Linked DNA regions of Homo sapiens: regions 2 and 3 are each linked to region 1. The links are contacts of gene promoters, found by promoter capture Hi-C in human tissues and cell types (Jung and others, 2019). All regions are on one chromosome and are shown on one strand. The core of a region is centred on a gene start or on the middle of the fragment in contact, and the rest is flanking DNA. Distances in the headings are between cores, read along the strand shown. Region 1 holds the start of UBE2J2 (ubiquitin conjugating enzyme E2 J2). Region 2 has its middle 20 kb from the start of LINC02593. Region 3 overlaps SSU72 (SSU72 homolog, RNA polymerase II CTD phosphatase).

Evidence for each region. Contacts are between HindIII fragments. The study calls those that stand out against the background at their distance.
Region 2: a fragment that was not itself captured here is called in contact with the fragment with the promoter of UBE2J2 in region 1 in 1 of the 25 tissues and cell types used here (mesenchymal stem cells).
Region 3: a fragment that was not itself captured here is called in contact with the fragment with the promoter of UBE2J2 in region 1 in 3 of the 25 tissues and cell types used here (hippocampus, lymphoblastoid cells and spleen).

The regions. Positions count from the first base shown.
Region 1 is chr1:1,271,806-1,276,591 of GRCh38, forward strand. UBE2J2 (ubiquitin conjugating enzyme E2 J2) reads right to left here and starts at 2,049. Exons shown (of 7, transcript NM_058167.3): 1 at 1,861-2,049. It overlaps LINC01786 (long intergenic non-protein coding RNA 1786), which reads left to right and starts at 2,197. Exons shown (of 3, transcript NR_185846.1): 1 at 2,197-2,676; 2 at 2,998-3,494. RefSeq lists enhancers at 181-689, 690-1,196, 1,197-1,704, 2,895-3,533 and silencers at 1,894-2,473, 2,634-2,683. The HindIII fragment of the contact is 25,820 bases long and covers 1-2,472 here.
Region 2 is chr1:897,624-902,409 of GRCh38, forward strand. No RefSeq gene overlaps it. Among named protein-coding and RNA genes, the nearest start is that of LINC02593, 20 kb to the right of the region's middle. RefSeq lists a silencer at 345-505. The HindIII fragment of the contact is 9,929 bases long and covers 1-4,786 here.
Region 3 is chr1:1,556,126-1,560,911 of GRCh38, forward strand. The region is part of intron 2 of SSU72 (SSU72 homolog, RNA polymerase II CTD phosphatase); the gene reads right to left. Among named protein-coding and RNA genes, the nearest start is that of SSU72, 16 kb to the right of the region's middle. The HindIII fragment of the contact is 4,081 bases long and covers 432-4,512 here.

The DNA of each region.
Region 1 (4,786 bases), core at 799-3,298:
CTCTACTAAAAATACAAAATTAATCAGGCATGGTGGCATGTGCCTGTAATCCCAGCTACTCGGGTGACTGAGGCAGGAGAATCACTTGAATCCAGGAGGTGGAGGCTGTGGTGGGCCAAGATCAAGCCATTGCACTCCAGCCTGGGCAACAAGAGCGAAACTCCGTCTCAAAAAAAAAAAAAAAAAAAAAAAAAAAAAATTAGCCGGGTGTGGTGGTGGGCACCTGCAATCCCAGCTACTCTGGAGGCTGAGGTGGGAGAATTACTTGAACTCGGGAGCCGGAGGCTGTAGTGAACTGAGATCATGTCACTGCACTCTAGCTGGGCCAACAGAGACCCTGTATCAAAAAAAAAAAATTCCACAAAGGAAGCAAACTGTGAGAACAGAGTTTGAAGCATATGTGCCTCGGGTTCCCTTCAAACATCCCCACAGACAAAGGACACCAAGCATATCATCCTGCTGAGAGAAAGAGTTGGCGATTTTAAAACAAAAAGGCACAGGAAAAAAAAATGTTCACACACAGAAACTGCATTAAAGCAGCGTGAATCACCGAGGGCAGCTGTGCCCAGGTGCTGAGGCAGTGGCTGCCCAGCGTCCCTCACCCGTCCCTCTTTGTCTGGACAGCTCTTTCCTGCTTAGGGGATGTGGCAGGAAACCTTGGCCTGACCCATCGGCCAGGCGCATGGCACACCCAGGTCCAGGACTGCCAGGGAAGTCTCTGCCTTCTCCACCAGACTGCTCCGGAGGCTGGACGGAAGCCCGGGCCGATGGAAATGGGACACTCACCTGCGACTCACACATGCACCTGCCTGGGTCACCTGCCTGTCACTCATCCACGCACCTACCTGCCTGGCTCACCTGCCTGTCACTCAAGCACTCACCTACCTGCCTGGCTCACCTGCCTGTCACTCACGCACATCCCTGCCGAGAGTGGAACTGCTAAGGAGGTCAGCGGTGCCAGGCCGTGCAGATGACGGACTGCAAGTTCCGGGCACCCAGACCCAACCACGCCCTAGGCTCAGGTGCTAGACTAAGCGAGATACTCACGATCCTTTCTTCGGAAGCCAGATTACACAGTCTGGTTCCCCTGGAGCAGGGCGCGGGGCCACCGACCTGCCCCAGCCAAGCCCGCTGTACACTCTTCGCTGCCCACCTCCCACCGGGCTGAGGCCCGACCTTTCAGCCGCTTCCTATCTGGGTCTGGCAAGAGGATGGCAACCGGACTAGAGTTAAATACACACGCACTAAGTGGCAGGCACTGAAAAGGACGCCAGGAGGTGACACCTGGCCAGGGGCTGAAAGGATGCAGGGAACTGGCAGGTGTGGATGGCGAGGCCCGGCGCCGCTTAGAGACTTGTTCCGGGCTCGTGTCTCACTCGCCGGCCGGCGGTGGTCTCCCACTGTCACCGCCCGGGTTTCCCAGAAACGCTGGCCCTAAGCACAGTCCCGGGCACGCTCGTTTCTCTCGGGGTTTACGGGGCAGTCTGGAGTCTAACAGTTCAGGGGCGAGGCGACGGCGGGCTCGACGGCAGCCCTCCCCCGACACAGACTCCCGTGATCCACTGACGAACCAGGATCGAGGCTGCCCGTCCTGGGGCAGCTGCAAGTGTCCCAGCTGACGGGAAACCCGGCCGAGTGGTCAAGTCCCCGACATGACCCTGACCCGGAGCTCCGGGAGCCCGCCGTAACCGACCTCGGGTTCCGCGCAGGCAGGCTCGGGCCGGGGCCCCGCGGGCGGCGGGCGCGAACGGAGAAGCGTCGCGCAGGGTCCCCAGCAGCCCCGGGCCGCCGCTGTGGCCGGCTCCGGCAGGGGGGACGAGCGGGCCCGAGGACCCGGCGCAGGCCTGCGAGCGCGCTCACCTCTCCCTGTCGCTGCGCGTGGGCCGCCGCCGCGCTCAGGCTCGCCGTAGTCGAGGCCGGAGCAGGGTGCGGAAAAGCGGGGCCCGCGCCCGAAACAGCCGCACCGCCCCGGGATTGGGCCCACCGAACCCGCCGCAGCGCCGCCGCCGCCGCCTCAGCCTCCAAGATGGCCGCTCGCGGGGCGGAACCAGCCTAGCTTCTGCTTCCGGTGCGCGGTCCGGGGCGGTGAGGAGGGAGGGGGAGGGCTGGCCGCTCTAGGCAGACTGGCGGACCGCGCCCACGACTCTCTGTCGCCGTCGACCCCGGGGTGGGGGATGGGGCGGGGGGCGGGGCGGCGCTTGCGCACTGGCGGGCGGCTCCGGGCACCGTTAGTGGGCGCGAGAGCCCCAGACCCCGAAGCCGCGCGCTTCCCTCCCCATGTGCCACGGCCCAGGGCGGCAGGCCCGGCTGAGGGCGACCCCGGTGGAGAAAGAACCCCGACCCTCCCGCCTCCCGGCTCCCGCCTTGTCCTCCGCTCCCACGCCCCACCCGGCCCTTAGGGGAGGCGCGGCGCGGCCCGGGCATGGAGCGTCCCGGGCCCCTGGAGGCTCAGTGGAGGGTTGGGCTCCAGGGAGCTCAGAGCTCTCTCGTTCAGGGACCCGAGAGTGACACGCGTGGCATCTCTTTGCAACCCACGTCCGCGCCGCAGCACCCTCCCCTGCAGGTGCCTGCCCAGCCCCGGGATGCCCCTGACCTCCCCTTGGACAGACTGCAGAAAGCGCGGGGCGCTGCGTCCTCTCCACCTCTCTCTGACCCCAGACACATTGGGAGAGAGCGGTAGGTGGCGGGGCGCTGGGGTGGGACGCTGGGGGCAGGCGCGCAGCCCACCGCCTCCCTGAGAGGCCGCTGAGGACAGCGGGGAGCTGAGGGTGGTCCCCTGGTGGGGGATCAGGAGGTGGACCTCGCCACCTGGCTGCCTGTGGCCCTCTCCTTTGCCCCAACCCTGACTGCCTCTCAGGAACAACCACAGGTCAGCAAGGTGGCTGAATATTGAGGGTCAGTCCCGCTGTGGCTACGGGCAGAGGGCAGGCTGTGTCCATGCTCAGCCCTGACTCTGGCCCTCTGGGACACCTTGGTGGGTCTGAGACGTTGCTGCAGGCCGTGGGGCAGAAGCCAGGAGGAGTGTCCACGCAGCCTCAGCCCGTGGGAATCCAGCCTGCCTCCATTACTGCCGTCACCGGCTCCACCTTCGGAGAACATCTCAGCATCCAGCCTCCTTCCTCTGCCTCCTCTCAGGCCTCTGCCGTTCCCATGCAGGGCAGGCCAAACTGTTTTCACAGCATGGAAAGTTATGTGAGGGAAGCCACACCGGCCGCAGATACAGGCACCAGCACATCCACTCGCATGCACACTCACGGCTGTGGCCCGCGGCAGATGGAGGCCCGCTCTGCCTTGTCTGTCCCTCAGTAGTGTGCGATGACAGCACACCTGTGGGGGCCCTGCAGCTGGGAAGACTGCAGCGAGGCTCAACTCAGAGGCCCCTGCTCAGGAGCATGGCTGAGTCACACCCCAGGGAGAAGGTGCCCCGGACAGGTGTGGCCAGCACGTCTTGCCAAGACCCCACCACCCCACCCACCCGCATCTGTGGCCTTCTGGTAAGCAGGACACAGGCTGCCCAGGCCTCTAGCCATAGAGCCGATGGCCTTGGCCAGTGGGATCGGCACAAGCAGCTAGGTTGGTGGCAGATGGTGGCTGTAACCTTCTCAACCCTGAGATTGCCCTCTGAGGGCAGGAGCAGCCCTTCTGCTGTGGGCCAGCCCTCCGGAGGGACTTCCTCTGGCAGCTTCAGGAATAGGACAACAGGGACCACCCTCAGCATCTTGAGCAGCGGGGGGCACCCTCTGCTTTGGCAACCAAGAAAACATCCCCCAACCCAGTTACCACCTCCTGCCCCCACCTCCTCCAGCCCCCAGGGTTGGACCAGAAAGCCTTGGCTGCCTCTGAACAGCAGGGATTGTCTGGCCAGGGGATGCTTGAGGGACAGAGAACCCAGCCTGGAGGGTGCAAACTGAGGAAGGTCTCAGTCCCTTTAGAAAGTTTGTTTTGCCAAGGTTAAGGACACACCCATGACATCTCGGGAGGTGCCCAAGGTGCATGTGGCACAGCTCGCTTTTATACATTTTAGGGAGACATGATTTATTTACACGGGTTCAATCTGAAAGAGCAGGATAAATTGGGGTGGTGTGGGGAGACCTCTATGTTATAGGCAGATTCAAAATGATCCTGACCGACAGTGGTTGAAAGAGTTATTATCAATAGAAAGGAATGTCTGGGTTGCAGTAAGGGGTTGTGGTTTTCCACGCAGCTGAAGCCTCGGGTTGCCGGCTTCAGAGAGAATAGATTGTTAATGTTTCCTATCAGACTTAAGGCCTGTGTTGATGTTAATGCTAGTCAGCTTTTCCTGAATTTCAAAAGGGAGGAGGCATGACCCACGACCCCTTCCCGCCATGGCCTGAACAAGTTCCCAGGTTAACACTGGAACGCCCTTGGCTGAGAGGAAGGGTCCATTTGGACGGCTGGGGGGGCCTTAGAATTTAATTTTTGGTTTACATTCACCCCCTTCTGGCCAAGATTTGCCAGAGGCAACATCCATGTCCACCAAATCTTTATTGTGTCTCAGCGTTGCTGGGCGAGTGTGGCTGCCCACCCTCAGTCAATCCTGTCCCTCAGTTTGACTCCCTATGACCCAGGGACTTACAGTTAAAAGATTTACAGCCCATTAAATTTTGTAGGCCAGATAGGAATGGACATGGACCAGCATTCATTACCTCTTAAAACAATTTTTTTTTTTAAAGTTGGAGTCTCACTCTGTCGCCCAGGCTGGAGTACAGTGGCATGATCTCGGCTCACTGCAACCTCCGCCTCCCAGGTTCCATTGAGTCTCCTG
Region 2 (4,786 bases), core at 816-3,315, 370 kb before region 1:
TTCTTTGAGTAATTTAAAAGGAAAAGGTTCAAATGTAGCTATAATATCTCCCTGTTGATCTGGGGGGTGTATTCTAACAGGGAACTGCCAAGCCTCTAAATCACCCTCTCTTCTAGCTTGCTGAATTCCTGCCTGAATAGAACTAAGAGCAGTCGCTCCAGGCGCTGCTCAGTCACTGGGGCAACTACTTTTCGCCCACAGTCCTCTGGAAAAGAAATACCTGGAGGGTCATTTTCTTCAAAATAATAATGAGGGGGTGCAGAAGGGTAGGGATGAACCTCTCCCTCCTTTGCCGCTTCAGCTTTAGCTGGCAAACAAACCTGGTCTGTAACCTCTTCTGTTACGTCGCTATACTCTCCTTCCTCCTCCTCATCAGTGTGAAAAGGTTCCAAGGTGAAACGAACCAGACCCCACGCCTGTCCCATTGTTACCCTGATGCTTCCGAGCTCCCCTTCTTACTCACCACGGGGATGGCTTTAAGAGTACTCAGGTGTCCTCCAGCTAGTTCCACGTTCTCCAACCGTCGCTCTGGCGACCCTTCGACCTGGATTCGAGCCCCCACGATGGACGCCACTTGCAGAGACCAGCTCGGTCAGGAAGACCCTAACCCAGCGGCACTAGAGGAATTAAAGACACATACACAGAAATACAGAGGTGTGAAGTGGGAAATCAGGGGTCTCACAGCCTTCAGAGCTGACAGCCCCGAACAGAGATTTACCCACATATTTAGTAACAGCAAACCAGTCATTAGCATTGTTTCTATTAACTAAAAGTATCCCTTACGGGAAATGAAGGGATGGGCCGGAATAAAGGGGTGGGTTTGGCTAGTTATCTGCAGCAGGAGCATGCCCTGATGGCACAGATCGCTCATGCTATGTTTGTGGTTTGAGAACGTCTTTCAGCGGTTTTCCACCCTGGGCGGGTCAGGTGTTCCTTGCCCTCATTCCGGTAAACCCACAACCTTCCAGCGTGGGCGTTAGGGCCATTATGAACATGTCACAGTGCTGCAGAGATTTTGTTTATGGCCAGTTTTGTGGCCAGTTTATGGCCAGATTTTGGGGGGCCTGTTCCCAACAGTAACCAATATTAAGTCATTCTCATTTCAACATTTAAACTCTTCCAACTGAATGCATTAAAAAACAAAAGTCACACACCACTGTACCCCTTATATGTACACAGCGGTCGGCAAACATGTGACAGGTGGAGGTCCTGAGGCACCACTGGGAGCTTGTGAGCGGATGGGCGTCTTCCAGAACGCACTCTGCAGGCACTCGGCAACGTGAAGTGTTCACGTCCTGTGATGCAGCCTCTGCTCCAGGCCACTTCCGGAACTGCGAGGGAACAGCTGTGGGCGCGCTCATTTCAGCTTTGCTTCAGATCCTGGGAGTTGGGGGCACCTTCTTTTTTTTTTTTTTTTTTTTTAGACGGAGTCTTGCTCTGTCACCCAGGCTGGAGTGCAGTGGCGCGATCTCGGCTCACTGCAAGCTCCGCCTCCCGGGTTCACGCCATTCTCCTGCCTCAGCCTCCCGAGTAGCTGGGACTACAGGCGCCCGCCACCGTGCCTGGCTAATTTTTTGTATTTTTAGTACAGACGGGGTTTCACCATGTTAGCCAGGATGGTCTCGATCTCCTGACCTCGTGATCCGCCCATCTCGGCCTCCCATAAAGTGCTGGGATTACAGGCATGAGCCACCGCGCCCGGCTGGGGGCACCTTCTGGCCCACAGTGAGGGAATAAGCAAACCAGAATGGGGGGTGCCTGCACGGAATACTCCTAAGTGCTCAGACACGGCGTCCACAGATGGATCCAAATCAGTGCTGGATGACGGGCACTCACCCCAGGTCTGCAGTCCAATAACACGGGCCTGAGCAGAAAGCACGTGGCATGGAGCCCCGTGGCAGATATGGGGACGAGCGGCCAATACATCAGCTCAGGTGTCCGAGGGGTTTCAGGGACATGAGAGAGAGTGGGGAACGAAGGGGGAAATCGCTTGGAGACCCAGGACGAGCCTGGCACACCAGGATGCTGATTCTGAAAGGGCGATTAAGGAGATTCCATGTTTTAAAAATCTGGATTTCTGGCTTCTTCTGAAAAAAATCAGAAGATGTTTAGCACAACAGCGTGGCATCGTCAGCTGTACTCCTGCCCCACTGTCCCCCAGGGAGCCTGGCTCATCCCATGGCTCACAGAGGCCCACACTGTGGCCAGACAGGTCCACTGATGGCTCAGCACGTGCACCCCGGCTGCAGGGAGATGGGTACCAGCCCAGGAAGTGGGACACTGGCTGAAACAGGATGGGATGCAGGGATGGGGTGGGATGGGAGACCAAACCAGTGTGAGGAATGAGGATAAAGGAGATGCTGGAGATAAAATCTGGGCAAGTAAGCAGGGGGTGGTCCTGCTGGCTGAGGCCAGAGATGCCAGCCCACTCAGACTCCTGCGCTGGCCCTTCCACACCATCCCAGGCCCAAGGCCTCCCACACACAGCGTCACATACACAAACAGCACCCTCCTCATGGCAACAGGTGACCCTGCCCCTTCACAGACCTCCCTGCCCCCACAGTCACCCCACATTTTAAAGGGAACTTGAGTCCATCCTGATATGTAAACGTGAGGTTAAATATCTATCATGGGGGAGAACAGACAAATCTCCAGTGCAGAATAGTTCTAAATAACCTAAGTGGAGGCTCCACTCTTGAGGAGATCCAGCCTAACTCCCCACCTCTCCAACGCGGCTCATCGCAGCGACCTCCTTCTTCCAACGTGGCTCATCGCAGTGACCTCCTTCTCAGGAGTGCAGAGTGGAGGTCAGTGGTGGAGTGAAGACGGACCAGGGTTAACATCGGCAGTGATCACTTGACCTCTGCACACTTGACTCTGGGTCTTTCTCCCCAAAAAAAACCAGAACCTCAGTATAATCGTGAGGAAAATAGACAAATCCTAATTGAGGGACATTCTCCAAAATACCTGACTGGCCCTCCTCAAAACTGCCAAGGTCATGGAAAAAGGAAAGTCTGAAAAACTCACAGTTTAGGAACCTAAAGAGACTTGATTACTAAATGGAATATATCCTGGGATCCTGGAAAAGAAAAGGACATTATGTAAAAACTAAGAAAACCTGAATAAAATGTGGCCTTTAGTTAATAAGAATCCATCAATATTGGTGCATTCGTTGTAACAAGTAGTTGTAACAAGTGCCACGCTAATGTAACACGTTAGTACCAGCGTAACTGGGTGCCAGGCGTTTGTAAACTCTGTTCCGTCTTCTCAATTGTTTTGTGAATCTAAAACCGTTCTTTAAAAAGAGTTTATTTAGTAGGCTGGGCATGGTGGCTCACACCTGCAATCCCAGCACTTGGGAAGGCCAAGACTGGTGGATCACTTGAGCTCAGGAGTTGGAGACATGCCTAGGTAACATGGCAAAACCCCATCTCTACTAAAAATACAAAAATTAGCCAGGTGTGGTGGCGCACACCTGTAGTCGCAGCCACTTGGGAGGTTGAGGTGGGAGGATCGCTGGAGCCTCGGAGGTCGAGGTGGTAGTGAGCCAAGATTGCACCACTGCACTCCAGCCCGGGCAACCAGAGTGAAACGCTGTGTCCAAAAAATAAAAAAAGAGTGTATGTAAAGTGAAAACAGAGAGAGTACAAGAAAAGAGGGAAACCAGGGGCTCAGTGGAGGTGGGCAGGGGCTGGTCCATGTGCATTCAGCCCACCTGGTTGGCAGCTGCCCAGGTGTCTCCTCAGGTGTCGGAACAGGAGTTTCTTCCACAGCCTTCAGTTTGCTCAGGTGGGCATGTGGCGATGGCAGACCCTTGGGCTGTGAGAAACTATGTTGCTGTTTTATCCAAGTCTTCACAGACCAAAGACGGGGCTTTGCCCAGAGGAGGCCTTGAGAAGCCAGGCTGGAGTTTGTGGAGAGAGTGTGTGTCACTCACAGGACATATGACGCATTTGCAACATGCGTTCTCAAAGTGGGAGCCACAGCAGTGTTCGTTTTACTATTGCTGGGCCTGTAAATGGAGCGTTTTATCTTTTTCGTCAGCTGGTTCATTGAACAAGTGTTTACAGAGCACCTGCTAGGCAAATCCATCGTGACAGAGACTCGGTGTGCCCCCAAGGAGCTCACAGTCTAGCGGTAAAGATGGTGCATAAACTCCCTGACACTCAGGGTGGCAACAGCCACCCCACCTGCTCCTCCCTTTCCTAATGCCCACACGGAGCAGACACTCGAGGGCTGCTTTTAGGAGTGCTGACTACATGCTTCCCTACCTCCATGTAGGCATGTGTGTACACAAGCGTGTCCTGTTTTCACCTTTTCACAAAACTATGTCAAAAGTGAAACATTTTGGAATACATTTCCAGTTATGCAAAATGTTTAAAATATGAATTTCTTCGGTTAACACAAATTAGGCATGAAATGTAGGCAACCCTGTTTACCAAGAAACATCAGGGTGCGGTGTGGGTCTGGGAGGTGCCCATGAGCACCTCATCTTGAGGCCAGTCTTCATGCTAGACCCTGGGTGGAGAGAGCGAGGCGGCTGGAGGTGGGTGTGTGACACCAGGTGACTTAGCGGCCCCAGGAGGGTGACTTCCCCTCCGGAGGTGCCATGCGACTGTACAGCTCAGGAGCACTCGGGGTCACCTACAGGAGGGGCAACTCCTGGGTGTCTCCCAACAGAGCCCAAAACCTGGAAGTGGACAGAGCACCCCCCGCTCATCTCCTGGGCCCTCGTCTCAGAGGAAGGACGGCCATTCTGGCCAACACTGACCAATGCTCCAGCCCA
Region 3 (4,786 bases), core at 1,222-3,721, 280 kb after region 1:
TCTCTACAAAAAATACACAAAGTTTGGCCAGGCACGGTGGCTCACGCCTATAATCCCAGCACTTTGGGAGGCCAAGGCGGGTGGATCACAAGGTCAGGAGATGGAGACCATCCTGGCTAACACGGTGAAACTCCATCTCTATTAAAAATACAAAGAATTAGCCAGGCGTGGTGGCGGCGTGCCTGTAGTCCCAGCTACTTGGGAAGCTGAGGCAGGAGAATCACTTGAACAAGGTGAAACCCATGTCTACTAAAAATACAAAAAATTAGCCGGACGTGGTGGGGGGCGCCCGTAATCCCAGCTACTTGCGGGGGCTGAGGCAGGAGAATCGCTTGAACCCAGGAAGTGGAGCTTGCAGTGAGCCAAGACCACGCCATTGCACTCCAGCCTGGGCAAAAAGAGCAAAACTCTTGTCTCAAAAAAAAAAAAATTTCATTTTGATAGCGAATGCTTTTTTGGCAAAGCACAGAGGCTGCACAAACAGAACTCAGGAACCCCTCGAAAAGGTCTCATGGCCATCTCTGGAGCTGCTGGGCACCCAACTGTAACCGTGGCCTCAACACAGAGCCACACAAGGCTCAGGCCAGCTCTGGGGGGGTCCACCATGGCCTTGCGACTGCAGGCACCGTGAAACTACTTTGCAAAAGCATCTCACCTGCTGCAGACTAGGTGAAAACTCACAGGCTTGTGGGCCCTGACCCTGGGCTACCTCTTGAAGACGAAGGCACAGTCAGCACAGCTGCATTCTGTCCAGACCCTCAAATGACCACCAGCAACTACCTCAGCCAGTCAGCTCCGTTCTACCTCTGTCATCTCAGATGAGAAGAGCAGGCCAGTATCTCTGGCCTTACCTGAAATATCTTAAGGCCGTAATTTACATTTTAGGCATGAATGATTTTCTAAAACCCACGATCAGAGTTTCTCTGGGAATCGGCGTCTGGCTTAGGAACACATTCATTTGTTTGACAAATACCTTCCCAAAACTATTTTAAAACACAGCTGCTGGGCGGGACGCAGTGGCTCACACCTGTAATCCCAGGACTTTGGGTGGCCGAGGCGGGTGAATCACTTGAGGTCAGCAGTTCAAGACCAGCTTGGCCAACATAGTGAAATCCTGTCTCTACTAAAAATACAAAAATTAGCCGGGTGTGGCAGTGCATGCCTATAATCCCAGCTACTCAGGAGGCTGAGGCAGGAGAATCGTTTGAACCTGGGAGGCGGAGGTTGCAGTGAGCCGAGATTGCACCACTGCACTCCAGCCTGGGCGACAGAACAAGACTCTGTCTCAAAAAAGTAAATAAATAAATAAATAAATAAAGCTTCATATCAGCATTTCCTTTTTGGGAACTATACTATTCATCTGAATTAGCATATATATATATATGGGGCCGGACACAGCGGCTCACACCTGTAATCTCAAAACTTTGGAAGGCCAAAACAGGTGGTTCACCGGAGGTCAGGTGTTTTGAGACATGTCTGGCCAACGTGGTGAAACCCCATCTCTACTAAAAATACCAAAATTAGCCAGGCGTGGTGGTACGCCGCACCTGTAATCCCAGCTACTCAGGATGCTGAGGCAGGAGAATCGCTTGAACCCGGGAGGCAAAGATTGCAGTGAGCCGAGATCACGCCATTGCACTCCAGCAGGGGTGACAGACTGAGACTCCATCTCAAAAAAGAAGTCTACCACATTTTACTCTGAGACAAGGAAATGTCCACAGGGAAGTGGCCACACACAGAAGTTAACCTAAAAGACAATGAATTCAGAGGACGGACATGAACAAATGTGCAATTTAAAACACAGGCCAGGTGCAGTGGCAACCCCTATAATCCCAGAGCTTTGGGAGGCCAAGGCGGGCTCATCACATGAGGTCAGGACCAGCCTGGCCAACATGGTGAAACCCCATCTCTACTAAAAGTACAAAAATTAGCCAGGCGTGGTGGCACATGCCTGAAATCCCAGCTACTCGGGAGGCTGAGGCAGGAAAATCGCTTGAACCCAGGGTCGGAGGTTGCAGTGAGCCAAGATCGTGCCATTGCACTCCAGCCTGGGCAACAGAGTGAGACTCTGTCTCAATTAAAAAAAAAAAAAAAAGCTGGGCATGGCATAGGCCTCTGGTCCCAGCTACTGGGGAGGGTGACGTGGCAGGATCACCCACCTGAGTCTGGGATGCCCAGGCTGCAGTGAGCTGTGACAGCACCACTGCATTGCAGCCCACACGACAGAGAGACGCCCTGTCTCAAAACCAAATAATAATAATAATCCAAACCCCAAACGTCATTAGAAAAAATTAGGTAATTAGAAAAAAATCCACAAGAGAGGTACAAACAGTATATGCCAGACACAGGCTTGGTCTCCAGCTGCACGGCCAGACGAGACCCAGGAAAGTGTCAGATGCACTTGCGTTTCACAGGACAACAGTCACATTAACATTTAGAGCTACACGTTTACTTGCTTTTGAAGACAAGTGGTTTTGCAGTTCATAACACAAAAAGCTGGTAAACCTTCACTAACTTACATGTACACAGGATGAACTTTCTGTAGGATCCTGTGAGACTCCCACACACCTTCTCATGTGGCTGAATGGGCTTCCCTGGAGCGGGGGAACTGTCCAGGCCGGTGTCTGCCACCCCAGCCCTCCTTTCACAACGGCCTCTCCCTCCTCCTCTACCCTCTGGGCCAGCGGCTGTTGCCTGGACCCCCTCACTGGGCTGAGTGACACTTCACTAGGTCAGACTGGCCATTCACTAACTTAGAAACAGAAGTCACTTGTCTTCTCCCCAAAGGCACTCCAAGCAAGCTTGGGATGGCTTAACCAGACTCCTTTCAATCAAAAATGAAAAAATCCTGCAAGAAAGCTCAACTATGGAAAGTGGCTTCAGTGTAAAATGAAAAAAAATAGAGAAGCCTCTGCACGTGACCCTGGGAGCCAGGCTCAAGCCCCTCGGCAGGACACCCAGCGCAAAGCTGCTCTACTCCACGTGCCACTGAGGCTGAGCGAGGAAAAGTCATGGCAAAGAAACCTGGGACTTAGAAATAGTTCCACGCATGCTCAGCGAAAGAACAAAAGGCTGCATATGAACTGGACAGTGTGGAATGAGCAGACCTGTAGCACGGGAAGCAGCTAAACTGGACGGTGTGGAACGGGCGGACCTGTAGCACGGGAAGCTGCTACAGGCACTGGGAGGAGAATGGGCAGCAGCAAACGGCCTTGGGAGACGAAAAGCGTCTCAAAACCAATTGTGGTGACGGCTGCAACTCCATGAATGTCCTGAAACCCACAGAACTGGACACGCGACTCAGGGAAGTGCATGATTTGTACATTTTATCTCAATAAAAACAATTCTTGATAAAACGGTCAGTCCACCCAAGGAAAGAACCTACACAGTAGAGTTCCCATTTGTCTACAAAGGTCAGGGGAGCTTAGATCCCCGTCCCTGGTCCAGGTATATACACTACTACTATTATTACTACCCTGGCTGGAGTCCAACAGCACAATCTCAGCTCGCTGCAGCCTCTGCCTCCTGGGTTCAAGTGACCCTCCCGCCTCAGCCACCTGAGCAGCTGGGATTACAGGCACACGCCACCACACCCAGCTACTTTTTGTATTTTATTTTTGGAGACAGTTTCATTCTGGTTGCCCAGGCTGGAGTGCAATGGTGCAACTTCGGCTCACGGCAACCTCCATCTCCCAGGTTCAAGTGATTCTCCTGCCTCAGCCTCATGAGTAGCTAGGATCAGGCATGCACCACGATGGCCGGCTAATTTTTTATTTTTAGTAGAGACGGGGGTTTCTCCATTTTGGTCAGGCTGCTCCCAAACTCTCGACCTTGGGTGATCCGCCCACCTCGGCCTCCCAAAGTGCTGGGATTACAGGCATGTGCCACCATGCCTAGCGTTTTGTACTTTTAGTAGAGACAGGGTTTTACCCTGTTGGCCAGGTTGGTCTCAAACTCAACTCGGGTGATCCACCTGCCTCGGTCTCCCAGTATTGGGATTACAGGTGTGAGCCACTGCATCCAGCCCCATGTATGTATACTATTAATTCCCAAAAGAAAATGTGGATGAAACTTTTTTAACAAGAGTCTTGTTCTCTTCCTCAGGCTGGAGCACAATGGCGCAATCACAGCTCAGTGAAGCCTCCTGCCTCAGCTTCCCGAGTAGCTGTGCCACCACACCCACCACATCTGTGTGTTTTTTGTAGAGATAGAGGCTTGCTATGCTGCCCAGGCTGGCCTCCGGCTCCTGGGCTCAACTGAGCCTCCTGCCTCGGTCTCCCCAGGCTGGAACTGCAGGCGTGGCTCGTCTAACTTTACCGAAGGCTCGCATCCCAGTGCTGCAAACCTAGACTCGTACCCTGACAATCCCCAAGGGAGGTTTCAGAGGCACAGGCAGCAAGTCCCTCAACCCCTCAGGCTCACTTCTGGCTTGTGGGGGAAAAGACCAAAATCAGCCATCTAGAGCCAAATACAGTCTCTAACTTATTATGGCTCAATGCAGGATTTTTTCACTTTAGCATGGGGTTACCAGCAGGCAACCTCACAGAAAGTCAAGGAGATTTTGTATTTAAGAAATGAAAGCTGAGAATAGTGGCTCACGCCTCTAATCCAAGTACTCTGGAAGGCCAACATGTGAGGATCACTTGAGGCCAGGAGTTCGAGACAAACCTGGATAACACAGCAAGACCCATATCTAAAAAAATAATAATAATAAATTAAGTATTTCAATACTAATAGGACAACTGGCCAAAATTTATTGAAGGCTTTAAAACACTGTCTCGGGCTC